Linked DNA regions of Homo sapiens: all the other regions are linked to region 4. The links are contacts of gene promoters, found by promoter capture Hi-C in blood cells and fetal thymus (Javierre and others, 2016). All regions are on one chromosome and are shown on one strand. Each heading gives the region's core, a stretch centred on a gene start or on the middle of the fragment in contact. The rest is flanking DNA. Distances are from core to core; before and after follow the strand shown.

Evidence for each region. The method cuts DNA at HindIII sites, captures the fragments that hold promoters and counts their contacts. A CHiCAGO score of 5 or more calls a contact.
Region 1: a contact is called between a fragment that was not itself captured here and the fragment with the promoter of IDH1 in region 4, in 4 of 17 cell types (total CD8 T cells, naive CD8 T cells, fetal thymus and 1 more). The highest score is 7.9, in total CD8 T cells.
Region 2: a fragment that was not itself captured here is called in contact with the fragment with the promoter of IDH1 in region 4 in 2 of 17 cell types (neutrophils and naive CD8 T cells); the score reaches 5.4 in neutrophils.
Region 3: a contact is called between a fragment that was not itself captured here and the fragment with the promoter of IDH1 in region 4, in 1 of 17 cell types (total CD8 T cells). The highest score is 6.0, in total CD8 T cells.
Region 5: a contact is called between a fragment that was not itself captured here and the fragment with the promoter of IDH1 in region 4, in 3 of 17 cell types (monocytes, fetal thymus and M2 macrophages). The highest score is 7.5, in monocytes.
Region 6: a fragment that was not itself captured here is called in contact with the fragment with the promoter of IDH1 in region 4 in 1 of 17 cell types (naive CD8 T cells); the score reaches 6.4 in naive CD8 T cells.
Region 7: a fragment that was not itself captured here is called in contact with the fragment with the promoter of IDH1 in region 4 in 3 of 17 cell types (total CD4 T cells, total B cells and monocytes); the score reaches 5.7 in total CD4 T cells.

What each region holds. Positions count from the first base shown.
Region 1 is chr2:207,719,859-207,722,765 of GRCh38, reverse strand. All of the region lies in intron 1 of CCNYL1 (cyclin Y like 1), which reads right to left. Among named protein-coding and RNA genes, the nearest start is that of CCNYL1, 9.7 kb to the right of the region's middle. The HindIII fragment of the contact is 2,338 bases long and covers 101-2,438 here.
Region 2 is chr2:207,605,332-207,608,292 of GRCh38, reverse strand. CREB1 (cAMP responsive element binding protein 1) reads right to left here. Exons shown (of 8, transcript NM_004379.5): 8 at 2,305-2,961. It also overlaps a transcript of METTL21A not described here. Among named protein-coding and RNA genes, the nearest start is that of METTL21A, 19 kb to the left of the region's middle. The HindIII fragment of the contact is 6,145 bases long and covers 1-2,961 here.
Region 3 is chr2:207,543,311-207,546,010 of GRCh38, reverse strand. The region is part of intron 1 of CREB1 (cAMP responsive element binding protein 1); the gene reads right to left. Among named protein-coding and RNA genes, the nearest start is that of CREB1, 15 kb to the right of the region's middle. The HindIII fragment of the contact is 2,882 bases long and covers 1-2,700 here.
Region 4 is chr2:208,253,621-208,256,320 of GRCh38, reverse strand. IDH1 (isocitrate dehydrogenase (NADP(+)) 1) reads left to right here and starts at 1,250. Exons shown (of 10, transcript NM_005896.4): 1 at 1,250-1,382; 2 at 2,362-2,435. IDH1-AS1 (IDH1 antisense RNA 1) reads right to left here and starts at 1,088. Exons shown (of 2, transcript NR_046452.1): 1 at 890-1,088; 2 at 127-418. RefSeq lists an enhancer at 1,016-1,542 and a silencer at 1,996-2,105. The HindIII fragment of the contact is 4,060 bases long and covers 1-2,700 here.
Region 5 is chr2:207,633,066-207,635,765 of GRCh38, reverse strand. No RefSeq gene overlaps it. Among named protein-coding and RNA genes, the nearest start is that of METTL21A, 9.0 kb to the right of the region's middle. The HindIII fragment of the contact is 2,102 bases long and covers 376-2,477 here.
Region 6 is chr2:207,703,383-207,706,329 of GRCh38, reverse strand. No RefSeq gene overlaps it. Among named protein-coding and RNA genes, the nearest start is that of CCNYL1, 6.8 kb to the left of the region's middle. The HindIII fragment of the contact is 7,671 bases long and covers 1-2,947 here.
Region 7 is chr2:207,503,865-207,506,571 of GRCh38, reverse strand. No RefSeq gene overlaps it. Among named protein-coding and RNA genes, the nearest start is that of CREB1, 25 kb to the left of the region's middle. The HindIII fragment of the contact is 449 bases long and covers 1,232-1,680 here.

The DNA of each region.
Region 1 (2,907 bases), core at 20-2,519, 530 kb after region 4:
GCTGGTCTCAAACTCCTGACCTTGTGATCTGCCCCCCTCGGCCTCCCAAAGTTCTGGGATTACAGGCGTGAGCCACCACACCCAGCCTCTACCTAAAGCTTCTAAAAGGATTCATGACTACTTCCTTTCAAAAAGAAAGCAAATATACTACCATTTGAATCTAAAAAATAACTAATGTTTACAGAAGAAGCCATATTATGAATCAGTACCTATGTCATGATAAAGTTTAATTAGGAATTTTCAATGAAGTCCAGGAAAATTAAGTACCAAAATCAAAGAGGAGCAGGCTTCACACACACACCTCCCCCGCCCCAAATCAAGATGTGCTACTATGTATTTAAATATAAGAAAACCAAGATGTGCTACTGTGTAAATATAAGAAATATCCAAGGCGGCTGGGCATGGTGGCTCATGCCTGTAATCCCAATACTTTGGGAGGCTGAGGCTGGCAGATCATGAGGTCAGGAGTTCGAGACCAGCCTGACCAACCCAGTGAAACCCCATCTCTACTAAAAATACAAAAAAATCAGCCAGGCGTGATGGCGTGCACCTCTAGTCCCAGCTACTCGGGAGGCTGAAGCAGAAGAATCGCTTGAACCCAGGAGGCAGAGGTTGCAGTGAACCAAGATCACACCACTGCCCCCCAGCCTGGTCAACAGAGCAAGACTACATCTCAAAAAAAAAAAAAAAAATCCAAGGCAACTAGGATAACAGAAATGATAAGATATAGAGAAAAAAGCCAAATAAGCCCAAGTAACAAGCTGGCACTCCCTCAACTCAGGGGTTTTAGGGTGGGCATGTGACTTACAGCTGGCCAATCAATTACATTTCTCTTGGGACTTCCCAAGAACCAAAGGAGAAAGGCAGGGCTGTACTCTAGCACTGCTAGCCAGCCAGGAGCTGCCACCGAGGCTGAGGCAGGAGAATTGCTTGAGCTCAGGAGGCAGAGGTTGCAGTGAGCCGAGATGGCGCCACTGCACTCCAGCCTGGCAACAGAGCAAGACTCTGTCTCAAAACAAAAAAAAAAAAAACAAAAAACTCCTAAGAATGTTTGAAACTAGAAGAAATAGTTTTTGATATCATGGTTAGGGGTTATGTATAAAATTGTATTTTAAGACCCACCAGTTTTGTATTATCAATTTAAATTGCAACTTAATTCGAAAGCATGATAGTATGATGGGGGGCAAGTAAGACAAAAAAAAATTAAACTCAGGTCTTAATATAAACACCCCCCTCAGGGGAAGAAATCTGTAAGATCCACTGACATTGAACACTGCTTCTCCTTGAATCTATCAGCCATCTCAATTTCACAGATGTTAATTAAAAATGTAAAAATATGGAACTTAGAATAAATGAAATGCATTATTACTAAAGGCTAAAAGTGTTAAAATTATGCAATTGTAAACTGTAAAGAAATTATTTTTCTTGTCAAAATATTAAAGGGAGAGGGCAGCAACCAAGAAAGTAACTGACAGAAGCAGCATATTTCAGAGAAAGAGATTGAGTTCAACATATTGATTTCAATATATCCCAATTAAACAGGAGACATTGGCAGTTTCTGGGCCAACTGCTGGGCATCTGTTTATTTAAAGGCTTACTGCATTTACTGACCTGCTCTACCATACTGCACACTGTATTAGTCTTACGGTCCATAACACAAACATTTCAAACCTCTCAACTATGATGTAAACGCTGAGATTTTATCTAAGTTCACACGTTCCACCCATCAGGTAAGTCTTACCTGATGGGTCTTGAGCTGCCCTGCCTCATCTGAGGTCACACAGTACCAGCCAAGCTCCAGTCTCATGCTCACTCATGCCTTGCTTTTGCTTTCCTAGCTTCTGACAATCCTAAATCTGGTTTCCGAAACACTGCTCTACCTCCTTCTATGTCAGTGTTCAGTCTTGCTTTAACTTACCTTCACGCCTCAATCTATGTTTTAGTGATCGTGACTGAGCTGTGACATTTCATATGCTATAGTATACCTTTCTCCCTTTGTGTATTTCTTAATAGCACTTAACTCCTTTTTTAGACTTTTAAGAGTATTTCTGGGTGGAGTGCAGTGACTCACACCTGTAATCCCAGCACTCTGGGAGGCTGAGGCAGAAGGATCACTTGAGAACAGTTCAAGACCAGCCTGGGCAACATAACATAGTGAGACCCCCATCTCTACAAAAATTTTTTAAAAGATTAGTTGGGTGTGGAGGCACATGCCTGTAGTTCCAGCTATTTGGGAGGCTGAAGTGGCAGGATAACTTGAGCCCAGGGATTTGAGGTTACAGTGAGCTCTAATGGCACTACTGTGCTCCAGCCTGGGCGACAGGCAGAGTTGTGACCCTGTCTCATACAGAGAAAAGAAAAAAAAAAAAAAAGTCTGGGTTACAAGTACCTCCATTTCATTTTTCATTATCCAATGTTATTATTTTAACTCTAAAGCTTAATTAACTGAAAAAAAGGTGGAAAAAAGGCAGTATCCAAAGAAGCCCATGAGTCATTCTATAAATTCTAATCCTATATGCCATATATCTGAAATTTACATTCTTGATCTACCAAGCCTTTTTTTTTTTTTTTTTTTTTTGAGACGGAGTCTCACTCTACCACCCAGGCTGGAGTGCAGTGGCATGATCTCGGCTCACTGCAACCTCTGCCTCCTGAGTTGAAGCGATTTTTCTGCTTCAGCCTCCCAGGCAGCTGGGACTACAGGCATGTGCCACCACACCCAACTAATTTTTGTATTTTTATTAGAGATGGGGTTTCACCATGTTGGCCAGGATGGTCTCCATCTCCTGACCTCGTGATCCACCCACCTCAGCCTCCCAAAGTGCTGTAGTACAGGCATGAGCCACCACCACACCTGACCATACCAAGTCTTATCTTTTTAAACCTTGGAAAACTCTTAGTCCCAGC
Region 2 (2,961 bases), core at 436-2,935, 650 kb after region 4:
GTTCATATGGGAATGCTTTTTCCAAGATCAATATTCTGATCTTGGAAAGAAGACAGACTGGGAAAGAGGAAGAAATTGGGCTGGGATGTAGTCGGGGAAGTCCTCAGCTAATTCTTTAGAGCTGAGATGGTCCTGCAGTTAGGCCATATTGAGGCAGGGTGATGGTCCTTTATGACCCTGCATGGACTAGTGGATACAAGGTTTATAACCTGAGGCTGAAGACAATATTGGAGAGGGAGTCAGTTGGGAGCCATCAGCCACCAACATTCCTGGAAGCTGGGGAAATGAGTGTTTCAGGTGTGGGGTGTGTGTGAGAGGAGAGCGAGCGCGCGTATCTGGGCAGCACACCACAGTGTCCACTACCAATGTCAGTGAAGTTGGGACTTATTTTTTACTTACATATTTTATCACATAAATGTACATTTTAAGTGTGCTTGTTTTGTTTTCAAAGATAGAAACCTAATCCAAACCTATTTTACTAAGTCTTGATTCTCACTCACATTGCCCAATTTCTTTAAAGTTATGCAGTTAAATAATCCAGTGGTATCACTAATTTTTCCCCCAATTAATACCAAATACTGCTGCCAAGATGCTATGTTAAAATGTATGTATGATACCAGGTTCTTGGAACCCCACTGTAAAGAATGCTGTTTTTGAAGTAGATTATCACTTAAAGGGTAGCTTGCTTTAGTTCATGGTAGATGGCCTGGATACCATCTTCAAATAGTAGTTGATCAAAATGCTTTTATCTGTTAACTGAACACTAGATTGCAAACTCAGGGCAGAATAACATTATTTGGAATGTTTTATCTTAGCAAATACAATTTATGCTCCTAGAAGGCAAGGATGATAGCATATATCCATATATCGTTTTCTTTCTTTCTTTCTTTCTTTCTTTTTTTTGAGATGGAATTTTGCTTGTTACCCAGGGTGGAGTGGAGTGCAGTGGTGTGATCTTGGCACACTGCAGCCTCTGCCTGGGTTCAGGCGATTCTTCTGTCTCAGCCTCCTGAGTAGCTGGGATTACAGGCATCTGCCACCATGCCCAGCTAATTTTTTGTATTTTTAGTAGAGATGGGGTTTTAATTATATTGGCCAGGCTGGTCTTGAACTCTTGACCTCGTGATCGACCTGCCTCGCCCTCCCAAAGTGCAGGGATTACAGGTGTGAGCCACCAGGCCCGACCTTATATTCTGTATTTCAAGTGGTAACATGGTACCCTGTTCAAAAAGGGAGTTCACACTGACTCATGAAAAATACACATTCCTTTACAGATGAGTTACCATATGCCTAATTTATGTGCTTTATTTCTCCTTGCCGAAGGTATGGGAGAAATAAATTCTCAGGGATATTAAAGTATCAAGGCATATGCTGAATAACAAAATTACCATAATGCAAAAGATTCACCTCCAATAATAATACCATTTAATTGCTATTTATGGGAAGCATTTACTGCCAATTCTTTAAAAATGAACAAAAATAAAATTTTAAAGTACTTTAAAAAATCACTATATAATGTACCCCAGTACTGTTAAGTGGCCCTAGATATAGGACTTCACTTAATAGTTGGTAAAACAGACTTGTAATTTGTGTTAGTGTTAGACGAAGTCACAACCTCACTGCTCCCCAGAACCTCTACCTAGAGAGAAGTAGCTTTCTCAAGGTCTTTAACATGAATTGGTAAGTACAGTGAGTATAGAGAACCCTCCTCTGGGAAGCTGGAAACTTGTACTATCTTAGCACTGACATAAACAGCATGACACCGGACAGTCCTTAGCTCTGTTTTACCTTAAAACTTGAAGTTTTTTTTGAGACGGGAGCCTTGCTCTGTCGCCCAGGCTGGAGTGCAATGGCGCAATCTCGGCTCACTGCAACCTCCGCCTCCTGGGTTCAAGTGATTCTCCTGCCTCAGCCTCCCGAGTAGCTGGGATTACAGGCGCCTGCCACCATGCCTGGCTAATTTTTGTATTTTTTAGTAGAGATGAGGTTTCACCATGTTGGTCAGGCTGGTCTCGAACTCCTGACCTCAGGTGATCTGCCCTCCTCTGCCTCGGCCTCCCAAAGTGATGGGATTACAGGCGTGAGCCACCCGCACCCCGGCCCAACTTGAAGATTTAATTGTTAGCTTTCTGCTCTAAAATCATGTTACACCTTTCCTTCTACAACCAGAGGGGTTAAAAATTTAGTAACACTAGAAAAGATGGCATATTGAAAACTTGTTTCTTTGCTAAGAACAGTTATTTCTGAGGATATTAGAAAGAAAACAGTATTAACAGAGATGAGAAAAGGAAAGCCTTATGAAAGTCTGTGCCACTTCTAATTTTAATTCCAGAAAAAAATGCCTAGACTGTAAAGTTTGACATAAAAATAGTAATCAACATAAGTTAATAAAAATTGCTTAGCAGATACCTAATAATCATTAGGAAACAATATCCAAATATGAAGAAAACCATAATTCAGAAATAACTTTTACTTCTCAGTATCCTGGAGATACAACTTGTGTAGACCTAGTTACCAACCTCTGTATATCTGTAACAGTAAAAAATTTCAAACAGCCAAATGTCCCCAGAAGAGGACTGGTTAAACTGTATCTGTACAATGGCAGCAGTTTATAAACCACTGTTTGTACCTACCTTTTGTGTAAAAAAAGGGAGAGGGAGGAGGAGAGAACATACATTATATTTGTGTATATATGCACAGACTGTCACAAAAAACATAACACAAAAAACTTCTTACAGTTTGCCCTTTTCCATGTTTCTTTTTTTTAGAAGTGTACATATTACATAAAGTAAGTTTGAAAACAATGAGGACATTATAAAGCAAAAACTTATAGGCGAAAATATTATAAGGGCCTAGTACCCAGAATATATAAGGAACTCAGAACCCAACAACAAAATTTCAATGAACAAAGGACCTCAACAGACATTTCTTCAAAGAAGATACGCAGATGGCCAAAGACAA
Region 3 (2,700 bases), core at 124-2,623, 710 kb after region 4:
GTAATCCCAAGACTTTGGGAGGCCAAGGCGGGCAGATCACCTGAGGTCGGGAGTTCAAGACCAGCCTGGCCAACATGGAGAAACCTTGTCTCTACTAAAAAAATACAAAATTAGCCAGGCGTGGTGGCGCACGCCTGTAATCCCAGCTACTCGGGAGGCTGAGGCAGGAGAATCGCTTGAACCTAGGAGGCAGAGGTTGCAGTGAGCCGAGATTGCGCCATTGCACTCTAGCCTGGGCAGAAAGAGCGAAACTCCATCTCACAAAAAAAAAAAAAAAAAGTTCACTTCCTTTAATCTGTACAACTCTAAAGAGAAATTGTTCTTAACCTTTACCTTTCAAATTTATGACCCTTTAATAGAGAATCACTCATTAAACAAATATTCTGCGCCTACTACGTAGTAACGACTACAGCATTTTCAGCAGAACTGAAAATTACTACATAGTAGTAGTCCCATACTATGGGACTATAGCATAAAACATATAAGAACCTTTCTCTGGAATTAGGCCAGGCGGAGTGGCTCACGTCTGTAATCCCAGCACTTTGGGAGGCCAAGGCGGGTGGATCACTTGAGGTGAGAAGTTCGTGACCAGCTGGCCAACATAGTGAAACCTCATCTCTACTAAAAATACAAAAATTAGCCGGGCATGGTGGCACATGACTGGAGTCCCAGCTACTCAGGAGGCTGAGGCAGGAGAATCACTTGAACCCAGGAGACAGAGGTTGCAGTGAGCCGAGATCATGCCACTGCACTCCAGTCTGGGCAACAGAGTGAGACTGTCTCGAACAAAACAAAACAAAAATAAAAGAACCTTTCTCTGGAATGCTTCTACATTGTTGGTGGTGTTAGTTCAACCATTGTGGAAGACAGTGTGGCAATACCTCAAAAACCTAGAGGCAGAAATACCATTTGACCCAGCAATCCCCTTACTGGATATATACCCAAAGGAATATAAATCATTCTATTATAACAATACATGCACGCATATGTTAACTGCAGCACTATTCACAATAGCGAAGACATGCAATCAACCTAAATGCCCATCAATGACAGACTAAAGAAAATGTGGTACATACACACCATGAAATACTATGCAGCCATAAAGAACAAGATCATGTCCTTTGCATGAACATAGATGGAGCTGGAGGCCTTTATCCTCAGCAAACTAATACAGGAACAGAAAACCAAATACCGCATGTTCTCATTTGTAAGTGGGAGGTACATGATGAGAACACATGGACACATCGGTGGTTGGGGGGACAACACACACTGGGGCCTGTCAGAGGGTTGGGGGTGGGAGGAGGAAGAGCATCAGGAAGAACAGCTGGTGAATGCTGGGCTTAATACCTGGGTGATGGGATGATGTGTGCAGCAAACCACCATGGCACACGATTACCTATGTAACAAACCTGCACATCCTGCACATGTACCCCTGAACTTAAAAGGTGGAAATAAAAAAGAACCTTTCTCTCAAGAGCTTACAGAAACTAATGAGAGATAAAATATGTACTATATATGAAAGAGCTTGACAGGTATAAATTATTATAACTAGTTTAACTATAAATTCCTTCCAAACAAGTACTTAACATCAGTAATTTAAAACCATAAACTTCTATTTGGAAATGGTAGGAATACAATGAACTGTGGAAAAAAAGAAAGAATAGCTGCCTATTTATGGTAATCTGATGCAGATCTGATTAAGAACATAATGAAATCAATGTATTTTTTCATGATCTTGGCTAGAATATTTACCCTAAGTGAGCTACTTACAAGCCTAAACTAATATTGCTTAAAAAGAAAAATTTTGGCCGGGCAGTGGCTCACGCCTGTAATCCCAGCACTTTGGGAGGCCAAGGCGGGCAGATCATGAGGTCAGAAGATCGAGACCACAGTGAAACTCTGTCTCTACTAAAAATACAAAAAATTAGCCAGGCGTGGTGGCGGGCCCCTGTAGTCCCAGCTACTCAGGAGGCTGAAGCAGGAGAATGGCATGAACCCAGGAGGCAGAGCTTGCAGTGAGCTGAGATGGTGCCACTGCACTCCAGCCTGCACAACACAGCGAGACCTCGTCTCAAAAAACAAACAAACAAACAAAAAAACAAATTTTGGCTGGGCGCCGTGGCTCACGCCTGTAATCCCCAGCACTCTGGGAGGCTGAGGTGGGCAGATCACAAGGTCAAGAAATCGATACCATCCTGACCAACATGGTGAAACCCTGTCTCTACTAAAAATACAAAAAAATTAGCTGGGTGTGGTGGCATGCACCTGTAGTCCCAGTTACTCGGTAGGCTGAGGCAGGAGAATCACTTGAACCCAGGAGGCAGAGGCTGCAGTGAGCCAAGATAGCACCACTGCACTTCAGCCTGGTGACAGACTCCATCTCAAAAATAAATAAATAAATAAATAAATAAAATTAATAACCATTAATAAAACAGAAACCCTGAAAACTTTACAAAGAGATAATGCAGTACTACAAGAGTGATGAAGACTACGCCTTACTTACTGTGAGTTTCTACACACATCACTTAAATTCTCCACGACTCAGCTTATTTGTAAAAAATGAAGGAATGACTACTCACTCCCCCTTCATAGGTAAATGTTTGTAACTGTGAATTTCCCAAATATGGTAGAGTTTATAAGTTATAAACTACCATCGCAGTCATTATAATAAATTCTCTCATAATAAATAACAAATTCTTG
Region 4 (2,700 bases), core at 1-2,500:
ACTTGAACCCAGGAGGCGGAAGTTGCAGTGAGCCGAGACTGCACCAGCCTGTCAGGGCAAGACTCTGTCTCATAAATAAATAAATAAATAAATAAATATTGGAGCATTAAATTCTGGGCAGCAATATACAAGCATGCTATTGTCCTACAAATCACAATATAAAATACTCTTTATTTTCATGTTTTTGAGAGCAATGAACACACAAAATATAATCTCTGGAGGAGACTAAAATTCTTTTTTCAATCCACCGTTTTCTAAGGCTTCACATCTCTAGTCCAACTTCATTGGATCACAGATAATCCCCCGCCAACTGAGCATGGTGGCTCACGCTTGTAATCCCAGGACTTTGGGAGGCCGAGGAGGGCCAATCACTTGAGTCCAGGAGTTCGAGACCAGCCTGGGCTGCTGAAACCCATCTCTACCAAAGGAAAAAGAAAAGAAAAGAAAGAAAGAAAAATTAGTTGAGTGTGATTGTGTGCACCTGTAATCCCAGCTACTCGGAAGGCTGAGGTGGGAGGATCTCTTGAGCCCAGGAAGTCAAGGCTGCAGTGAGCGGTGATCGCTCCACTGCACTCCAGCCAGGGCAACAGAGCAAGGCCCTGTCTTAAAAAAGAAAATAATAAGAATCCCATTCATTATCTTCTAATGCAAACAATCAATGGAGTTTCTAAAGACCTAGACATAGGTGGTGTCAGGACCTGCTTCTGTAACTTTTCCATCCTTTGCATTAGGCAGCGCGGAACCCCCTAGGCGACCCCGCGCTGGCCGGGAGCACTCTTTCTTCAGCCAAAGGTACGTTCCATTACCGCCCCTCGGGGGCGCGCTAGGCAGCGGGCCGGCCAAGCTGCCGCCGCCCAGGGCGCCCTGTCCCGTTCGCTTTTGTGCCGACCTGGAAACACTCTGTGGTGCTCTAGATTGTTACAAAGTTCGGGGTGGTGCAGCCCCAGCGCGCCCCGCTCCCCGGCCTGCAGGTGGCATACAAGTCTCTTCGCTGTCGGGATTCGGGACTGAATCTCTGCCGGGCGGCAACCCCTTCCCCCACCGGGATCACCGGGAAAGTGGCACCATGGATTCTCCATCTTTGACTGTGGCCACGCCCCTCTCGCTGACTCCGCCCATCCCACGGGAATTGGCGTGTGGCGATTGGAGGCGTGTCGGGGGCGGGGCTGGGGGAGGTGGGCTGAGGAGGCGGGGCCTGGGAGGGGACAAAGCCGGGAAGAGGAAAAGCTCGGACCTACCCTGTGGTCCCGGGTTTCTGCAGAGTCTACTTCAGAAGCGGAGGCACTGGGAGTCCGGTTTGGGATTGCCAGGCTGTGGTTGTGAGTCTGAGCTTGTGAGCGGCTGTGGCGCCCCAACTCTTCGCCAGCATATCATCCCGGCAGGTAACCTCAGGCTCCAAGGGGCGGCCCCGGTCCCTGGCTGTGGAGGGGTGGCTCTAATTCCGCAGAAGGCAGGAATGGGGTAAAGGAAAAAAGCGCAGATCTTGGGTGTGGAGGGAGTCAAGGCCTGCGTGCAAAGAAGGGAACAAATCCAGGTATTGAGAATGGGAAAAGAAAAGGGAAGGAGGGGATGCTGGATGCTTGGATATGCAGAAGGTCTGCTTTTGGGCCTGGGAGGGAGAAACTGGGCGGTGAGGAAGTTGGATGCAACGACAAGGGGAAAATCAGGTCTGCACTTGGGTTGGAAAATCGAGGGGTGGAAGTTGCAAGAATGCATGTAGAAGACTAAGCCTGGAGTGTAGGAGGAAGAAAACGTGCAGCAGCTGGGGGCTGGATGCAAAGAAGGCTGTAAGCCGCAGACGGGCGTCTGCAGGCAACTCAGGCGGCGAGGAATAGCCTTGAAGCCGATCCCTCGCGTCCGCCAGGGGGCGTGGAGGGGCGGAGCTCCAGCGGCCTTCAGAGGGGTCGCTAGGCCACACGGGGCGAGAGGGGGCTGGGGGAAACACCCCCGCCAGTTCCGGGTGCCTGGAGTTTAAAAGGTCCCAGCACCAGCGAGGGGAGGGGAGGGGAGGGGCGGGCGTGGAGACCTGGAAGGAGGTACCGATCCAGCCTTGATTGCAGCCCTCTTGCACAACGGCCATAAGGACGGGTGCAGGCCAAGAGCAAGGACATGCAAACCCCAAGACCTGCTAACGGGCGGCGAAGCGGGGGCACGCCCTCGCACACGCAGAGATAAATTGTGCTCCCATGACCTTTATTTGGAAAGTGCCTGCGGGCCTAAAATTGGCCTTTGTCCCACCGAGTACACTCAGCACTGTACTTTAAACCGGATAAACTGGGCTGTCTGGCAGGTACTAAAAACAGCTAAATTCTCCTGTGAGTGTTCTGTATGTTAACACTTTTATTCCTTGTTTTGTTTTAGGCGATAAACTACATTCAGTTGAGTCTGCAAGACTGGGAGGAACTGGGGTGATAAGAAATCTATTCACTGTCAAGGTGAGAATTAGCAAATTTTCCCCCTTCTTCTGTACTTTCTTTGATGTGGCAGTACAGTGTTTAACTGGTCTTGGGGGCAGGCCGAGGCACTGCAAGGGAATGAGTGAGGAATATTTCCAACAACGAATTCCAACAGCTTCCTTGTTTCTTTTAATACAGTGTCTTATCTGCAAGAGATCCTTTTTGCCCAGAAATTATTGTAGTTCATGAACTCGGCAAAAAACAATCTGGCCAAAAACTTGAGGTTGATGAAAATAATATTAAA
Region 5 (2,700 bases), core at 177-2,676, 620 kb after region 4:
AGCATGCATTGGCAATAAATTCCCTATGTGCGGCTCAGTCCAGATCTTTCTGCCTCTAGGAGCAGGCCTGTGGGCAGAACCTGCACTCTCCTCTGCTCCTTCATGCTATAGGAATTACATGCGAGGCCTGCCCCATCCAGTGCTGGATGAGTCACCTTAGCGTTCTTCGTTCTTCGTAGGTCCATCTGCCTGCAGATATAAGCCTCGCCCTCCAACTTCTTCTGTCTCAGTAAATAGAGGGGATGTTTTTGCCTTCAGCTTTAGTCGTTGTTTTATTTCTCAGCTTGTTTAGAACCCAGAGAAAATAAAGTGAGAGGCTGTTTACTGGTGCTCCGTCACAGACCCTGACAGTATCGTAAGTAAATGAATGAAGCTTGTGGGGACAAGACAACAAGCAGGGGAGGGGACCGCGGCACACTGAGGGGAGACCATAATGTCCAAAGGAAGAGCCAGCTTGGCTCTAGCTCATTGCCATCTTGTGGGCATTTGGACCCATGTTTGCCAGATATTTCAAAATTTTCAAAGAAAGCCATTTCAAATAATTATCTTAATTTTACTATCTTGATTTTTATCTGACATCTTGCTATGGTTTGAATGTGTTCCCCCAAAAGGCATGCATTGGAAACTTAATCAGTGTTGGGAGGTGGGGCCTAATGGAGGTATTTAGGTCATAAGGCTCCACCCTCATGAATGGATTAATAATGATTATAAAAGGGCTTGAGGGTGCAAGTTTGAACTCTTGCTCTCTCTCACTCCTTCTTTGTGTTTCCTTCATGGGATAGCACAGCAAGAAGGTTCTCCCCAGATGCCAGCCCCTTGATCTTGGACGTTCTAGCCTCCAGAACCAGAAGTCAATAAATTTCTGCTCATTATAAATTACTCAGTCTTAGATAATTCTTTTTTTTTTTTTGAGATGGAGTCTCGCCCTGTCACCCAGGCTGGAATACAGTGGTGCGATCTTGGCTCACTGCAACCTCCACCTCCTGAGTTCAAGTGATTCTCCTGCCCCAGCCTCCGAAGTAGCTGGGATTACAGGTGCACGCCACTATGCCCAGCTAATTTTTGTATTTTTAGTAGAGACAGGGTTTCACTATGTTGGTCAGGCTGGTCTCAAACTCTTGACCTCGTGATCTGCCCGCCTTGGCCTCCCAAAGTGTTGGGATTACAGGCGTGAGCCACCTCGCCCAGCCGGTAATTCTTCTATAGCAGCACAAAATGGACTAAGATACATCTCCTTACTTTCAAATATTGACACTAAACTAAAAAACAAAACACCATGAGAGCCAAGTCTGCATGGGACACACAAAACACATCTGTAGGTCAAGGCTTTTTGGAGGCTGCCAGTCGGGGACACTGCCTCCATCCTGCCCTGGATCCTCAGCACTGCATCCTCTCTGGTCACATTAGCATGTAACTCCGCTCCCACTCCTGTACATACCACCAGGAAAACCTGAACTCAAAATGCCCTGTGTCACCTGGGAAGAGGCACTGCTCAAATACATGAGCTCTTGGAATTACAAGCTAGCACTTTCACTTGACTATTTACTATTCTCTTCTTGATGTTGTCTTTTGGTTTGACTTACTTAAAATGTACCTGCTTTTCTAATTACACACAAATTAACCTATAAATTATGAAAAGGCAAATGGCTTCATACCTTTTCTTGGAATCATCAAAAGATAAGACAGTCAATAGCTTCTTACCCAAACATGTACTATACCTGGGAATATTATTGAACCCTAGGTTAATGAAACACAAATAATGAAAGTAACTACAAATTCTTCAGCATCATTAACTCAAAGGTATCTAATAAGTTGAATTCGCATTTAAACACTTTTGGAGTGAGGTGGGCAATAATTTGATGTGATGTATTGTAACATTCATTCATTCATTCATTCATTCATTCATTCAACAAATAGTTGTCCAGCCGTTTCCAGCTGAAAGCCACAGATGTGACTCTAAAACCCAACAGAACACAAGTCTGGAAACTTCTCCCCTAGCTGCTGCTTCTATTTTGTTGTAGAACAAGAGCATCAGGCATGGCTGCAGTTGTCCAGGAGCTGTGATCAAAAATGCGATTTCATCAGCAAAATGAAAAATCCAAATGTAGCTATTTATGCTGCATATTCCCTCAAGGTAGCGCTGAGCAGTTGTCTTGTTTTTTCTCTCTGCAGTCAGGTCTTACGGAAATACTGAGAAGCTAGACAAGAACTTAAAAAAGACAGTGGTGAACACAGTTATACCAAGACTCTGTCTATGGTTGTCTTTCTTTAGCACCAGCTGGAGCTTTATTCCTTAAGGCTTTTTGAATATCCTTAAGCCAACTCCTTAGCTGTATGGTAGTGTCTTCAGGGCAGCCAGCCTCACCCTTGAGGGCACCCAGGGTCTGTGACTCACACAGAGAGTTGTGTAGTGATGATGCAAAAATACCTCTCCTGCAGGGTGTAAGTTGTTAGTGGAGTTTGGGTAGTTCAAAGCTTTCATTCTTCTGTTTGACTTAATCTTAAGAGTTATCTTGTGCCACTTACCCCTTGCTCCTGGCTGGTCAGTTGACAGTTTCTTCTGCCTGGGGGCTTTTGCAGTTTCTGTTCCCTTGCTTGAAATGCCATTCCCTTGGCTCTTCAAGTGGCTGTTTTCTTCTACTCTTTTAAATTTCCATTTAAATGTCACCTCTTCAGAGCCCTCTCCTTTCCCCAGCTCAA
Region 6 (2,947 bases), core at 348-2,847, 550 kb after region 4:
ACATTCCCACCAGGTTATTCTAGTAGCCTTTTTGACAGGTACCTTCTCAAATCAAGCTGACATTAGAAAGACAAAACTGGAGGAGGAGGAGGAATTGCATTAAACTTGACAGCAGGGAAAAGTTTGAGGAAGTCTTTTGAACCAGATTTGTCCCCTAGAAACAAAGCTCATAGATTTTAGGACGTCATCTTTTTCTCATGATGGCTCTATTGCCCTATTGTTAAGACAACTCTATTTTTATCCTCACAGCATGCAGTCTACCCTTAAGTACCTCTAGAAATTTTCTATCAGAAGGGATTAGGACAGCAATCTGGATGGATATAGGGCCCAGGAAACTAGTCTTAAGCGATATGTTTGTATAGAAAGCACATTAAAACAAATGAACAAACAAAATACCTACTTAGATTGAATTTTATTGGGAATAGGTCCTTGTCTCCTGTGCTGAGCAGACCTTGCTTCTATAGGGTGCTTGTTTGATGAGTCTACATTGAATAATGCCACACACTCCATGAGCTGTTTCTTTTCAACACACAGATGAAATAGAATACATTTTTTTTTTTGGATGGAGTCTCACTCTGTCGCCCAGGCTGGAGTACAATGGCACAATCTTGGCTCATTGCAACCTCCGCCTCCTGGGTTCAAGCAATTCTCTTGCCTCAGCCTCCCGAGTAGCTGGGACTACAGGTGTGTGCCACCACGCCCAGCTAACTTTTTTGTACTTTTTAGTAGAGATGGGGTTTCACCATATTGGTCAGGCTCGTCTCGAACTCCTGACCTCAATTGATCCACGCACCTCTGCCTCCCAAAGTGCTGGAATTACAGGCATGAGCCACCGCACCCGGCCATGAATGCTCTTATTAAAAAAAAATTCTGCCCAGCACTTTGGGAGGCCGAGGCGGGCGGATCACAAGGTCAGGAGATCGAGACCATCCTGGCTAACACGGTGAAACCCCGTCTCTACTAAAAAGTACAAAAAATTAGCTGGGCGCAGTGGTGGGCGCCTGTAGTCCCAGCTACTCGGGAGGCTGAGGCAGGAGAATGGCGTGAACCTGGGAGGCGGAGCTTGCAGTGAGCCAAGATCGCGCCACTGCACTCCAGCCTGGGTGACAGAGCGAGACTCTGTCTCAAAAAAAAAAAAAAAAAAAAAAATTCTGGTTATGTAATCAATGCTTTGCTCAGGAAAGAAAAAGAAAAACTCTGAGCTCACAGGAGCAATTGAAGCTAGAGTGTCCAAACTGGACCTGTCCTGTTCTTTGCAGCCATAGTGTTAGCTTCAAGATCTAAAGAGTTGGGAACTCAGTAGCTGCCCTGCTCTGGCCATCTGATAAACCTCTATTCAGTCTTTGAGCCTCAGAGTGCCTATGAATTTCTTTGATTCCCTCAAGGCTGTGAGATTCTGCATCTTCAAAGCAATCAGTTCCTTCTCCAAACCCTTACTATAGAGCAACATTGTATTACAGTGTGTGCTAATTGTTTACTTGTCTGACACCCCCATTAAACTAGGAACTTGCTGAGATCAGAGCTAATTTAGTCATTTTTCAATATCTCCCACACTAACTAGCTTGTAGCACTCTCAACAAATTTTTCCTGAATGAATGGATAAATAGATGAAAAAGTTGAATTGACAGTACTAACAATCACAATTTGAGAATTGTGTGCAATGATTCCTTATTTTGTTCAGTATTTCCTATTCTGTTTTATGCCTCTGCTTCTAGTTTCTGTTCTCCTGTAGCATTTTAAAAAACAACAACCATTGTATAAAGCTCATGAGTTCGGGTCAGGAAATTAGGCAGGCCACTATAGGGACTGTTCATGCCTGCTCCAGGATGACTGGGGCCTCATCTGGAGTGGACGTAACGATTGGACCTGGCTGAGACTGCTCACCTGGGGCCATATGTCTGGAGTGTTAGCTCTAGCTGTCAGTGGGGTTCTTCCACTCTTCTCCAAATCACATCCCCAAGACTGAAAGTTTATGATGACTTGCAAATCAAGTGACTAGCCCGTGAAGGCTGGCACATGTGGGACTGGTTGCACATTCCCTATAGCATGGTAATCTCACAATAGTCAGACTTCTTACAGAATGCAGCTATCTAATCTCAGTGTGTTTCACTTCTCCAGGAAACATTAATCTAAAAACATGGGGCAAGTAGAAGAGGTGTGGTGAGCAACATTCCTTCAAGTGAAGGGGAAAAAAATCTCCAAATCTCAAAACCAGTTTCTTCACTATTGTGAAGTTCATCCAGATCATCAGCTTACAATGGATTATGCTAAAATTACTGTAACCAAATCTAAGTCTTATGCACTATCTGGCATCCAGAGAAGCCCATTTTTCTCCTTGCCTCTGAGTTTTTTAGGAGTTAAAAAGAACGCAGCTTTCTGCAGGTGCTTTCACCTGCATAAGTCTATTTTGCTGTAAGTCTATTTTGTCGCATCAACTTATATTTTCAATATATATTCAACTTACATTTTTTTGAAAACAACACACACACACACATTAAATCAAACTAAAAAGAGTAATAGGGGAAATTTCCTAAAATTTACACATTAAGAACATCATATTTTTCTTTTTTTTGTTTTTTTGAGACGGAGTCTCACTCACCAGCCCAGGCTAGAGTGCAGTGGCACGATCTTGGCTCACTGCAACCACCATCTCCCAGGTTCAAGCGATTCTTCCATCTCAGCCTCTCAAGTAGCAGGGATTACAGGCACCTGCAACCATGCCTGGCTACTTTTTTTTTTTTTTTTGAAATGGAGTCTTGCTCTGTCACCCAGGCTGGAGTGCAGTGGCACAATCCTGGCTCACTGCAACCTTTGCCTTCCAGGTTCAAGCGATTCTCCTGCCTCAGCCTCCCGACTACGTAGCTGGGACTACAGGCACGTGCCACCACGTCTGGCTAATTTTTTGTATTTGAGACAGGGTTTCACCATGTTAGCCAGGATGGTCTGC
Region 7 (2,707 bases), core at 207-2,706, 750 kb after region 4:
TGGGGAGGGATTATTATAGCTATCTCTGCAACAGACTGCCACAGTCAGAAATGAGAATGCCAGTATTACAGTAGGAACCTCATATAATTGTCATGTGGACATAGACCTATCATTTATTGGATTTTATCCCTATCAGGACCAAAGTGTAATTTGGATAAAACACTTCCAAAATATTTTGGTTTACTAATAGAAGTGTGGCAAGATCAAACAGGGTTTTAGAAAGGTTTGTTGGTTATTGAAAAAATGTTTCCATTTCTTCACTGATAAAAAAGTTCAAAAATGGGGACAAGTTGAAAATAAGTTCATAAATATTTTTCTGCTGGTCTTCTTTAAATACATGAGTATTTTGATTGAAAGTTGATGTCAACTTTTGAAAGTCAGCATTTAAAAAAATAATGTTCTACCTATGCAATGTGAATTTCCACATAAAAGAGGTCATGTTTATAGTCTGTTTTTATATGTGGTATAATTTAGAGTATGAGAAAGAGACTCCTCTTTCCCTCCCCCATCCAATGAAATTTTTACCAGTGCCTGAAATATTACCAGGAGTGATTCACTATTTGTTTCAAGCATTGCTCACTTTCACTGGGTTTTAACATAGCAAATATTTCTTGGAAGGAAAGGACAGGAAGTAGCACTGTGGTATGAATAATTTAGAGAAGCATTCTTTCTGAGGTTCCTGGGTGTCTTTGGAGGAAGGCGGTTCTGAAAGGCAGGAGGTGGGTGTGGTGGAGCAGGGGAGGATGAAGAATGTGGGATAGAGGTACTGAGCCCACATTTCTCTACCTCACATAGCCTGCTGCTTAGGAGGCATGATTAGGCTGATGTGATTCTGAACCTACTTTTTATTTTGGATAGAACATATTGTACCTATAATATGGTATTCATGCTCTCTTTGTGTTTTTTCCTAAACACTTTTCCACAAAGGGTATTTATTTACCCTTAAAATTTTATCTCCAGTAATGTGCTTTAGGGCCTTTCTCTTATAATAACTTTTAGCTTTTGTGATTTTCCTTTGGAACTAAATATCCCTTTGAGCCTGTCCTTTTCATCCTATTTTCCAAGGTCTAAGACACAGTCCTGGCATTCTAGGGGCCTCTGAAATTGCTGGTCCACTGTGGGAAAATCCCGGCTTGGGCAGAGTCAGTGTTGTTTTGTTCGCCAGGTGTTGAATAGACTGCAGAGTGAAGCTGCCTCACAGCCTGTGTTTTCCTGGTTTGAATAGCAAGCTTAGTTACTTCATTGACTTTCTTAAGGGTACCCGGTTCCTCCTTTTAATTTATGCCTTTACCCAGTGAAAACTAAATCCAACTCAGAAACCCCTCATAATTTTATTCTAGGGAGTTACTTTTGTTTGAGGAGCTAATATAGTTACAGGACTGTGATTTTATTATTCCCACAGAAAGCAAAAAGCACGAGCCTGTTCTGCGGTTCAGATGAAAAGCTCTGTGACTAACAGGATTCTTTCTTCCTTTCTTTCTTTTTTTGGGTTCCATTTCTCTCATTAGCTGCCAGGTCGTTTCATGACAGTTCTCCCAGCTGAAGTGATTTATCACGTAGAGTGAAGAAGTGGGAACTGTGTCGTTTCTTTTTACCCCCTGACAGTGGGGCTTCTCCTCCTGCTGTCAGGGCACGCCAACAGCCCATTGCTTTGGTGGTATGGGCTGAGGAAAGGAAGCTTGACTTGTAACTATTGCGGTTCTGCAGAAGGCCCTGGCATGTAGGGCAGTGAGCCAGTGGCTGCAGTCTGCCTCCTGGTGCTCCCTCCTAAAGCCAAAGGCTCTTGGAAGAAAAGACTTAGTTTTGCAGCCAAACTAGAGGTGGAGGTCTTTCTGCGGTAGTCATGGTAATCTACTCAGTATAGATTTTATAGTTAAGCAGAGGCTGCCGTAAGGAAAACTGGGGCCAGAGCTGGACGGGCATTTGCCTCTTGAAAGGCTCTGCCTGTGGCTCCTCCTCCACCCCCAGCTGGCTGATAGGATCCCCAGGAATATCCACAGGCTGTTGAAGGCTCCTCGGTGTTAGTGTCCCATCCTGTCTTCCTTAGTCCCTCTTTTCTCCCCAACCATTTCATATTAGCAAGCACATTTTTTTTTAAACTTTTAAGTTCAGGGGTAATAGGTTACGTAGGTAAGCTGCAGGTTTGTTACACAAGTAAACTTGTCTCATTTCATCACCCAGGTATTAATCCTATTAGGTATTTTTCCTGATCCTCTCCCTCCTCCCACCCTCCACCCTCCAATAGGCCCCAGTGTGTGTTATTCCCCTCTGTGTGTCCGTGTGTTCTCATCATTTAGCTTCCACTTATAAGTGAGAACATGAGGTATTTGCAGTGTGACGAATCCAATAGTAGCTTACAGTTATGACAACAGCTGAAGAAGCTGGTGATAAAGGCATGTTTTGTCTTGATGTCAGTTAGAGGTCTACCTGAAAAATAGGTGAGCCATAGACAGTGAATAAATCAAACAAGTGCAAATTTGATAACAAGATGGACCAATAAGTTGTCAATAAGTGGAGAACAAATGTAATACAATTCCTGGTATTCTCTTGGAGAAACCTCTGCTTATGAGTCCTCTAGCTTTCAGCCTCTGTGCCTGGGCTCCATCTATATATCTAGACTCATCCCAGTTACTGAGCCAGTTATGACAAATAGGGAATATGTCAGTATACCAGAAAAGTATAATCCAGAAAAGAGAAACCCTGCTGA